Regions from separate parts of the Homo sapiens genome. Here region 2 is linked to region 1. Evidence: promoter capture Hi-C in human tissues and cell types (Jung and others, 2019). All regions are on one chromosome and are shown on one strand. Each heading gives the region's core, a stretch centred on a gene start or on the middle of the fragment in contact. The rest is flanking DNA. Distances are from core to core; before and after follow the strand shown.

Evidence for each region. The method cuts DNA at HindIII sites, captures the fragments that hold promoters and counts their contacts. A contact is called where the count stands out against the background at its distance.
Region 2: a contact is called between a fragment that was not itself captured here and the fragment with the promoter of FAM83F in region 1, in 1 of the 25 tissues and cell types used here (spleen).

Annotation. Positions count from the first base shown.
Region 1 is chr22:39,992,507-39,997,069 of GRCh38, reverse strand. It overlaps FAM83F (family with sequence similarity 83 member F), which reads right to left and starts at 2,116. Exons shown (of 5, transcript NM_138435.4): 1 at 1,539-2,116. The coding sequence starts at 2,027. LOC124905155 reads right to left here. Exons shown (of 2, transcript XM_047441700.1): 2 at 2,302-2,722. The coding sequence ends at 2,302. RefSeq lists a silencer at 2,074-2,193 and an enhancer at 1,768-2,401. The HindIII fragment of the contact is 11,866 bases long and covers 1-4,563 here.
Region 2 is chr22:39,848,161-39,852,723 of GRCh38, reverse strand. All of the region lies in intron 3 of ENTHD1 (ENTH domain containing 1), which reads left to right. Among named protein-coding and RNA genes, the nearest start is that of ENTHD1, 43 kb to the left of the region's middle. The HindIII fragment of the contact is 5,099 bases long and covers 1-4,563 here.

The sequences.
Region 1 (4,563 bases), core at 867-3,366:
GAAAACACATATTCACCCGGTTGTTGTGAAAAGCTAATGAGAAAATGCAGGTGAGTCATTAACACAGTGGATGGCACATATTAAATGCTAAATAAATAGAGGCTTTGTTAGTATGACATCATGAGACTTGACCCCTAACCCCAGCTGCAGCCTGTATTGCCGCCTACATCCTTTTTCCCTCTTCTGTGTCCAATCTTGCCTTTTTCTTCTGCAGAACACAATATACAAAGAAAACTCAGTCAGACAGGGAGGAATTATAGAGAGGGAGGGTAGAAATGTGCGCAGTGGAAAGTTAACCCTTCCTTCTGGTAGCCAATGTAGCCAACTATCTAGATCACCCCAACTACCTAAATCACCCCTTCCAGGAAGATGAGCCTGAGCACTGGTCTTTCTAGCTCTATTTTCCCTCCTCAGGCCTCTTCAGCCTCGAGGGGAACCAGGACTCCAACCTCACTCACTGAGTGGAATTTGAGTGGTGAACCCAAGCCACTCCTGTTGTATTATTCTGAATTGGGCACCAAAAGCTGCTGCTGTTTCTTAACAAATCTCAGTGTAGGGCAGCCAGAGTTAGCAAATAAAAGTACAAAACGTTCCCATTCAATTTGAATTTCAGATACACAACGAAGAATTTTTCAGTATCAGTACGTCTCATGTCATGTTTGGGATAAGCTGATACTAAAAAGTTATGTGTTGTTTATTGAAAGTTCAAATGTAGTGGGGCATCCTACATTTGATCTGGAAGCTGCCCAGGACTCCCACCCAAAGGCATAAAGATTAAAGTCTTCCACCTGTTCCACAGTGGACTGGCCTCACCAGCCACCCTGGAAACAGCCCCTCCTTCCAACTCTCAAGCAGGACACATATGCTAAGTAGGAGCCCTTTCCTGAGCTGCCGAGTCAGGTGACCTGCTGTGCCAAGGCGCCCAGCACAGGGCCAGGCACACAGTAGGTCCTCAATATACCCCGTCCCCCATTCATTCCAGGCAGCTGGGGCCTAGTACCCGGCCCAGGAGAGGCTGTGACTGTGAGGGCGCCAGCTCAGCTTTGACTATGGGAGGAGAGGGGTGGTCCAAGGAGCAGCATGGCAGAGGTGGGACCGGGAAGGTCACCGCCACCCACTCCCTGAAGTTGTTTTGACGATCACATGAGAAAGCGGCTCGGGATATGTTCTGGGCAGCACGTAGGTTATCATCAAGACCTTTGAGTGGTGCATTTTAACCACAGGGCCTCGGCCCCCAGTCTTCCCTGGGGAGGAAGGCTGGACAGGGAAGTTTCAGAAGTACAGAGCAGAGCCAGTGCCTCTGAACGCTGGAATACCGACGGCTGACATCTGTCCAGCACCTTGTAATTTGCCAAACACGTTCCCAGCCATTCGCTCTACAGGCCTCACTGCAGCCCCAGGAAGTAGGGGCGGGTTGGGGCCCATTTTCCAGAGGGTGCTCAGGGCGGCCTGCCCCGGGCCCTGCCTGGGAGGTGGGGCCCGGTCCAGGGGACTGGGGCCGAGGTCCCAGCGGTGTGGGGGCGAAGGCGGGGGCCTACCTTCTGGGCCTGTTGGATCATCTGCCTGACCACCTGCTTGAGGTGCGGCGCCTTCTCGTCCTTGGGCGGGTGGGTGAAGAGCGTGACCCGGCTCACGCCGCGGTAGAAACCAGTGTCCGTCCAGCCCAGGTCCAGAGGAGGCACCTCGGTGTCGGAACGGTCGGGCCAGTAGGCCAGGGACTCGCCGGACTCAGCCGGCGCCGGCGCGGGGGCCTTGGCCTTGGCCTTGCTCTTGCCCCGGGCGTTGGCGGCGGGGACGGCGTCCTCGTAGGGGCTCCAGGCGGCCCGCAGGGCCTGGCGCTCCGGGCTGGAGAGGAAGTCCCGCAGCTGCTCCTCCTTGAGCCGCTCGCGGTAGGCCTGCTCGCCGCCGCCCAGCAGCGCCTCCAGCGCGGCCCGCCGCCGCTCGCAGTAGTAGAAGGCGGCCTGCGCCTCGGTCACCTTCTCGTTCACGTGCGCCTCGTCCAGGCAGTTCAGCTGGGACTCGGCCATGGCGCCCCGGCCCCGGCCCCGGCCCTGGCCCCGGCCCCGCCGCGGTCCGAGGTCCCACAGCCGCACCTGGAGCCGCCGAGGGGCGGGGCGCCTCACCTGGCCGCGAGCTCTGCCCCGGCCCGTCCCGCCCCGCCCCGCCGTCGGGGAGCGGCCAATCCGCGCGGGCGTGGCCGTCGGGCGGGGAGGGGCCGCCGCCTCCGCCGGGCTCGCCGGGACCTCCGGGCGGCCTGGCGGACGCGGTCGGGCCCGGGCCTGCAGGGCCCACCAGCCGGGGCTAGAGTCCCTGAGGGGACGCCCCCAGGGGGCGGGGCCGTCGCAGACCCACGTGCGGGCTCCGGCCCCGACTCCTCCGCGGGGTAAAGGTTCGCTGTCCGGCCCTCGCTGCCATCCGCCCCCGCCGGCCGCGTCGCGGGTACGAGTTCATTTTCCGCGCACGTGGAGTCCGGAGCACGTGTTCTGGCCCAGTGGCCTCTGGGGCCGCCGAGCTGACCCCTTCCCCGTCGAGGGTCCGGTGTTGGTGGGGGGGCCTGCTGCAGGACGGGATTGTGACGGCTGAGGAGCGGGCAGGGGGTGTGCAAAAGCGAAATGCTAATGAGAGCTCGAGCTCCCCACCCTTGCGTCCCAGTTCTGAGATCAGAGCCCTTCTGGGCTGGGAGTCCAACACCTTCACTGTAAAACTTTCTTTTAAAAAATAGCTATCCAAACAGAAATGATGTAAAGAGCAGCAGTGGAATTCCCCCCGCCCCCACCTTAATTTGAAGTAGGGTGTGTGGTGTCTCTCCGTGTGTGTTTGGGCAAGATAGGCTGCCAGAGACATGATTACTATATTAGTGATTCAAAATGTATGTTTGAGCTCAAGGAAGGAAACCGCACGTGCGTGCACACCACACACACGCACACACACAGCAGCGGTGGCAGCAGCTCTGCTGTTTCCCATCGGATTAAATACAATCGTCTTAGTCATTAACATATTATGTTGTTCATGCACTGCTCTACAATTTGATTCTCCACATTCAAAATATTTTCAGATCATAACAACTAAAGGTTCACATTTCTCTCACTTTATAGCGCAGCATCTCAGAGCTGGAAGGAGCTTTTCAAGCTCCTCCAACCCCCTCATTTTACAGTTGAAGAAATTGAGGCCTAGCAACGTGTGCGTTGCCCAGGTCTCCCGTGAAAGAGGCAGAGCACGGGGACTGCAAGGTTTTCTGTCTTGGAGGTCTTTCGCTGACATCACGGCCGCCTTTACCCTTTCTCCTTTTCTTGTGAAACGACAGGTTATTGGGGACCTGGTTTTCACCCCAGGGGATTTGAAAAGGTCACTTACCATTTCTAGGCCTTCCTTTCATGCTCTGGAAAAAATGAGAGTTAGATTTTCAAATGTCTGCACATTATTGTTATTATTATTTTTTTTTTTACAATAATCAGTTCTGGCATCCTGTGTCAGCCCAAAGATTGGGAGTGGTGAGCAGCAAGGTGTCCATCACCTCACTTGTCCTTTACCCCTCTTGGGAACTGGAAAGCTTCACTCCTGGTAATGCTCCACTCTTAAGTACATATAGACAGATTGTGTCCTTAGATGGGAGAGCACTTAGTTTATTACGACTTGACGCCCTACAAGATGCCAGACTCAATAGTCTGGAGACACACAGGAGCTCAGGGCAGTGGGAGAGACAGACAAACACAGAAGAGGATAGGAGTAATGAGAGTGGTTTCTTTGGGCTTTTTTTGTTTATTTTGTTTTGTTTTACTTTGTTTTGTTTGAGACGGAGTCTCACTCTGTCGACCAGGTTACAGTGCCGTGGTGCAATCTTGGCTCACTGCAACCTCTGCCCCCTGGGTTCAAGCGATTCTCCTGCCTCAGCCTCCGAGTAGCTGGGGTTACAGGCACCTGCCACCGTGCCCGGCTAATTTTTGTATTTTTAGTAGAGTTAGGGTTTCACCATTTGGCCAGGCTGGTCTTGAACTCTTGACCTTGTGATCCACTCACCTTGGCCTCCCAAAGTGCTGGGATTACAGGCATGGCCCAATAGTGTTTTAATAAACACAGTCAGAAATGCTTTGGGAGCAAATGGGCTCAACAAACATTTACTCAATGCCTACCATGTGCCTGGTACACAGTTTGCACCCAGTGTACATTTCTTAAAGAATTTGAGCCAAGAGAAAGGTATGTGGAGGGAGCTTATGGGAATATGAAGGAAGGAGCAATCTGCCCAGTGGGAACTGGGTAAGAAGGGCTTTGTCCAGCAAGAAGGGATTTCAAGTGGAGCCTAAAAGGAGGAGAAGAATTCAAGGTGGAGAGAGGGAATGAAGACATTATAGGTGGAGGGACTTAAAACTGAGTTTAGTCAGAACATTATGCTGGCATCAGGCTTATGTGGACTCAGTCACTTCAAGATGCCTTTCAGAGCCTTAGTCTCCTCATCTGCAAAATGGGATAATAATGCTTAACTCTCCTGACCTCCCACGTTGGTGTAGGGATTAAACGAGAACACTTCTTTGACTTAATTAGTACTCGTGTATCCCTGGTAGAAAG
Region 2 (4,563 bases), core at 874-3,373, 140 kb after region 1:
TAGACACACAAATTCTTACCATTGTGTTACAATTGTCCTTGTGTTACAATTGCCTACCACATTCAGTACAGTAATATGCTATACAAGTTCATTGCTTAGGAGCAATAGGCTATACCATATAGCCCAGGTGTATAGTAAGCTCTACCATCTCAATGTGTGTAAGTACACTCTATGATGTTTGTACAACAATGAAATTGCCTAGCAATGCATTTCTCAGAAAGCATCCCTGTTGTTAGGGTATGCATAACTGTTTCTTTTTTATTTTTGTTTCGGAAAACCATTATACTCTTGTAAAAACAATATAGGCTTGTTATATAATTACTCAGAAATAACCATCATTAATATCAGATGATTGCAATTCTAGGCATCTTTTTTGTGAGACAGGCTCTCACTCTGTTGTCCAGGCTGAAGTACAGTGGCACCATCACAGTTCACTGCCACCTTGACCTCCCTGGGCTCAGGTGATTCTCCTACCTCAGCCTCCCAAGTAGCTGGGACTGCAGGCATGCGCCACCACACCGGCTAAATTTGGGTTTTTGGGTTTTTTTTTTTTGGTAGAAACAAAGTTTCACCATGTTGCCCAGGAAGGTCTCAAGCTCCTTGGCTTAAGCAATCTGCTCGCCTCAGCCTCCCACAGTGCTAGGATTACAGGAGTGAGCCATCATGCCTGGACAGCATTTTTAAAAAATCTATACATGCATATAGAGAGATGGATAGCTAGAGAGAAATTATTTTTATAAAAATGGAATTATATGCTGTTTTTTAGTAAAAAATATTAAAGGTCTCCTTCAGGCAATGAGACTAGGAACTCCATTTACTGCACAATAACCAAAGACTGGAAGTGACACACTATTTGCGACACTACTGGCCTCACAAGAAGTATGGGAAGTCTCTAAGTTTCTCTTTTTGAAAAATGTAAAATAAAATAAGAACAGTACATGTGAGCTGAAGTCAGAGTGACTTGGCATTCTGCCTGTGGGAAGCTGCAGGTAACTGTAGGGGTTGAGTTGCTTAAGAGCAGTTGTTAGTAGATCAGAGAATGAGTTTGGGGGCTGTCTTGAGCATTGGGAAGGAAAGCCTTGGGTCACTATGCTGAACCCAGACCCTCAAGGGGACTGAATTGAGAAAGTGTACTCATTTCATAAGTTAAGTCCAATAGGATTTTCACCAGTTTAAGACAAGCAATGAGCTCAAAATCCAATATCACCAAAACAGGAGGAGGTAAGCAGCAAAGAACATACTTAATCCCCCAAAGAGTGTAGATATTGGAAAGGTCAGATACAGAACAGCTGTGTATTTACATAAATAAAGGATATAATCGCATGCATCACCAGTTATCAAGAGATTATTAGGACTGAATGGATGAATTTGAAAAAAGGGAACTTGCAGAAATGAGAAATACTACTGAACTAAAAAAATGTATTTAGTGAGCTAGAAGATATGCCTAAAGAAAATGGAAAATATGAAAGTAATATTAATTAAGCCATATGGAGGATACTGCTACAAAGGAATGACAATTAATTACTGTACCAGAAAGCTTCTCATCTTCTACAGTAGAAGCCTGACGACAGTGACATAGTATCTTAGAAATGCTGAAGGAAAATAACAGCCTATAATTGTGTACCAGCAAGACTATGATTTAAGGGTGAGGGTGAAATAGTTATTTATAGATGAATAAAAAAACGAAGAGAGTTTACAACCATGAGACCTGCATTAAAGGGTATACTTCAAAAAGAGGAAAATTATTCCAGAAAGATAGTTGAAAATTCAAGAGAGAATAATGAATAAATGGTAAACACACACATAAATATAGATACGTATGTATAATAAACATTTGATATATAAATCTAATTTTTGAGTTAAGAAAAAGACAACTAGAATAGTGGGTAGCCACGGTATGTAAGTGGGGGTGGGCAGGTCCAGAGTTGTGTTCTAAAGGTCCTTGTGTTTTTAAGAGAAGGTAATGAATATTCTTTGACTGTAAACTTTTAAAGGTAAACGTGCATGATAAACTTTCAAGAATAAACTTTAAAAGAAGAGAAATAGAGTGCATAAATTCCAGACAAGTAGCAAGAAGAAGTAGAATGAGAAAAAAATAAAATTTTATAAAGGGCAAAAAGCATAAAGTGGAACAAATGGAAATTAAAAAGTAAAATAAATAATAGAAATAAGCCCAGATAGATTAATAATCACAGTAAATAGTAATAGATTAAACTCACCTATTAAAAGGCAGAGACTATCAGATTGGGGAAAGAGAAATCCAGATATATGCTGCAAGCATAAATTCACATAAAGATTGAAAGCAATGTATGGAAAAAGGTAAGTCAGGCATATACAAACTAAAAGAAGGCTGGTGTAGCTACTTAATAACAGGCAAAGGAGACTTTAAAGCCAAGAGCATTAAGGATAATAATAAGATGCTCAATTTCCCAGGAAGATGTAGTATTTCTAAATGTGAATATACCCAGTAAAATAACTTCAAAGTATATAAAGCAAAAGTTGGTAGAACTACAGGAATAAATTGAAATATCTACCATCATAGTAGATAATTTCAAAACATCTTTATTGATAGGTGAAGGACATGAAACTTTTTTTAATATGGATTTTATAATTGATGATATGTGTTATAAAGGAAGTCTTTACATTTCCAAAAATCTGTTTCATAGAGGACACGTTTTCTTACCAAAATACCATTAAATTTGAAGTTAACAAAAAATATAAATAAAAAATTTCCATACATTTGAATGTGGGACTATTTCTTTTAGAATAAGGTGGAAGAAAAGGACATCAGTTCTCCTTGCTACGTCAGCTTTGTAGTGGAGGTCCTAGCCATCACAGTAAAACAAGCAAGAGAAATTAAAAATGTCAGTATCAAAATGGAAGAAACGAGCATCATTTGTAAACGATAGGATTTTCATATAGAAAACTTCGAAAGATCTACAGACATACTAAAAATAGTGAGTTTTAGAAAGATGGCTGGCTATAACATCAAAACATAAAATCAAGTTATATTCTATATATCAGTAACAAATATTAAACATAATTTTTAAGATACCATTTATAATAGCCAAAAATCTTGATTTAGGAATAAGTCTTACAAAAGAAGTACAAAATCTGTACACTGTAGGTTATAATGTTTAATTGAAATACATTAAAGACCTATATAAATGGAAAGATATTCCATGTTTATCAAAATAATAATGTAAACATGTCAGTTCTCTCCAAATTGTCTAGATTTAGTGGAGGGTTTCTCAGCCTTGGTACTATTGATATTTTGAAACAGATCATTCTTTGTTGTGGGAGCTATGCATTGTAGGGTAGTTAGCATCATACCTGGCCTGTACCCACTGGATGCTATTAGCAAACATCCCTTTCTGTTGTATTGAATCAAAAAAGTCTGCAGACATTGCCAAATGTCCCCTGGGGGCCAAATTGTTCCCAGTAGAGAACCGCTGATTCAGTGCAGTTACAATCGAAATCCAAAAAGGGTTTTAAGAGTTGAATTTGATGTACTGATTCCAGAATTTACCTGGAAGAATCAAAAGTTCAAGAGTATCCAAAACATTCCTAAAATAGAGTAAGGTGGAGGGTTTGCCTTTCTAAATAACAAGACTAAAATTTTACTGATCATGACACTGTGGTATGGATGCAGGATAGGTGCATGGACCAATGGAACAAACCATAACCCTAGAAAACAGACCTGGGCCACTATGGAATCAGTAAATGACAGAAGTGGCATTTTTGAATAGTGGAGAAAAACTGAACTGCTCAATAAATAATACTCGGATAATTTTTTATCCATATTGTAAAAATGAAATGAGGTCTCTAACCTGGATGAATTAAGGATTTAAAGGTAAAAAGGCAAAACTTTGAAACGTTTAGAAGAAAATTTAGAATATATTTTTTACATTGAAATAGGGAAATATTTCATAAACAGAAAAAGTGCACATTATTTTTTAAAAGTGTTTATGAATTTGACATTTGTGGTAGGCAGAGTTTTGAGGATAAGCCCCATGACCCTTGCCTATATACAGTCCTCTCCCCTTTGAGCGTGGACAGAACCTGTGAATATGATGAATTACCACCCCCATGATTGTTATATTCTAAGGCAAAAAAGGTATTATGCTGGTAGGCCCTATCTAATCAGATGAGTCCTTTAAAAGCAGAGAGTTGGCCGGGCGCTGTGGCTCATGCCTGTAATCCCAGCACTTTGGGAGGCCAAGGTAGGTGGATCATGAGGTCAGGAGATTGAGACCATCCTGGCCAACATGGTGAAACCCTGTCTCTACTAAAAATACAAAAATTAGCTGGGCATGGTGGTGCATGCCTGTAATCCCAGCTACTCTGGAGGCTGAGGCAGGAGAATCACTTGAACCCAGGAGGCGGAGGTTGCAGTGAGCCAAGATTGTGCCACTGCACTCCAGCCTGGTGACAGAGTGAGACTCCGTCTCAAAAAAAAAAAAAATTAATTAATTAAAAAAAAATAAAAGCAGAGAGTTTTCTCTAGCTGGTGGCCGAAGAGGGAGTCAGAAAGATTCCAAGTGTGATAAGGATTTGAAGCAC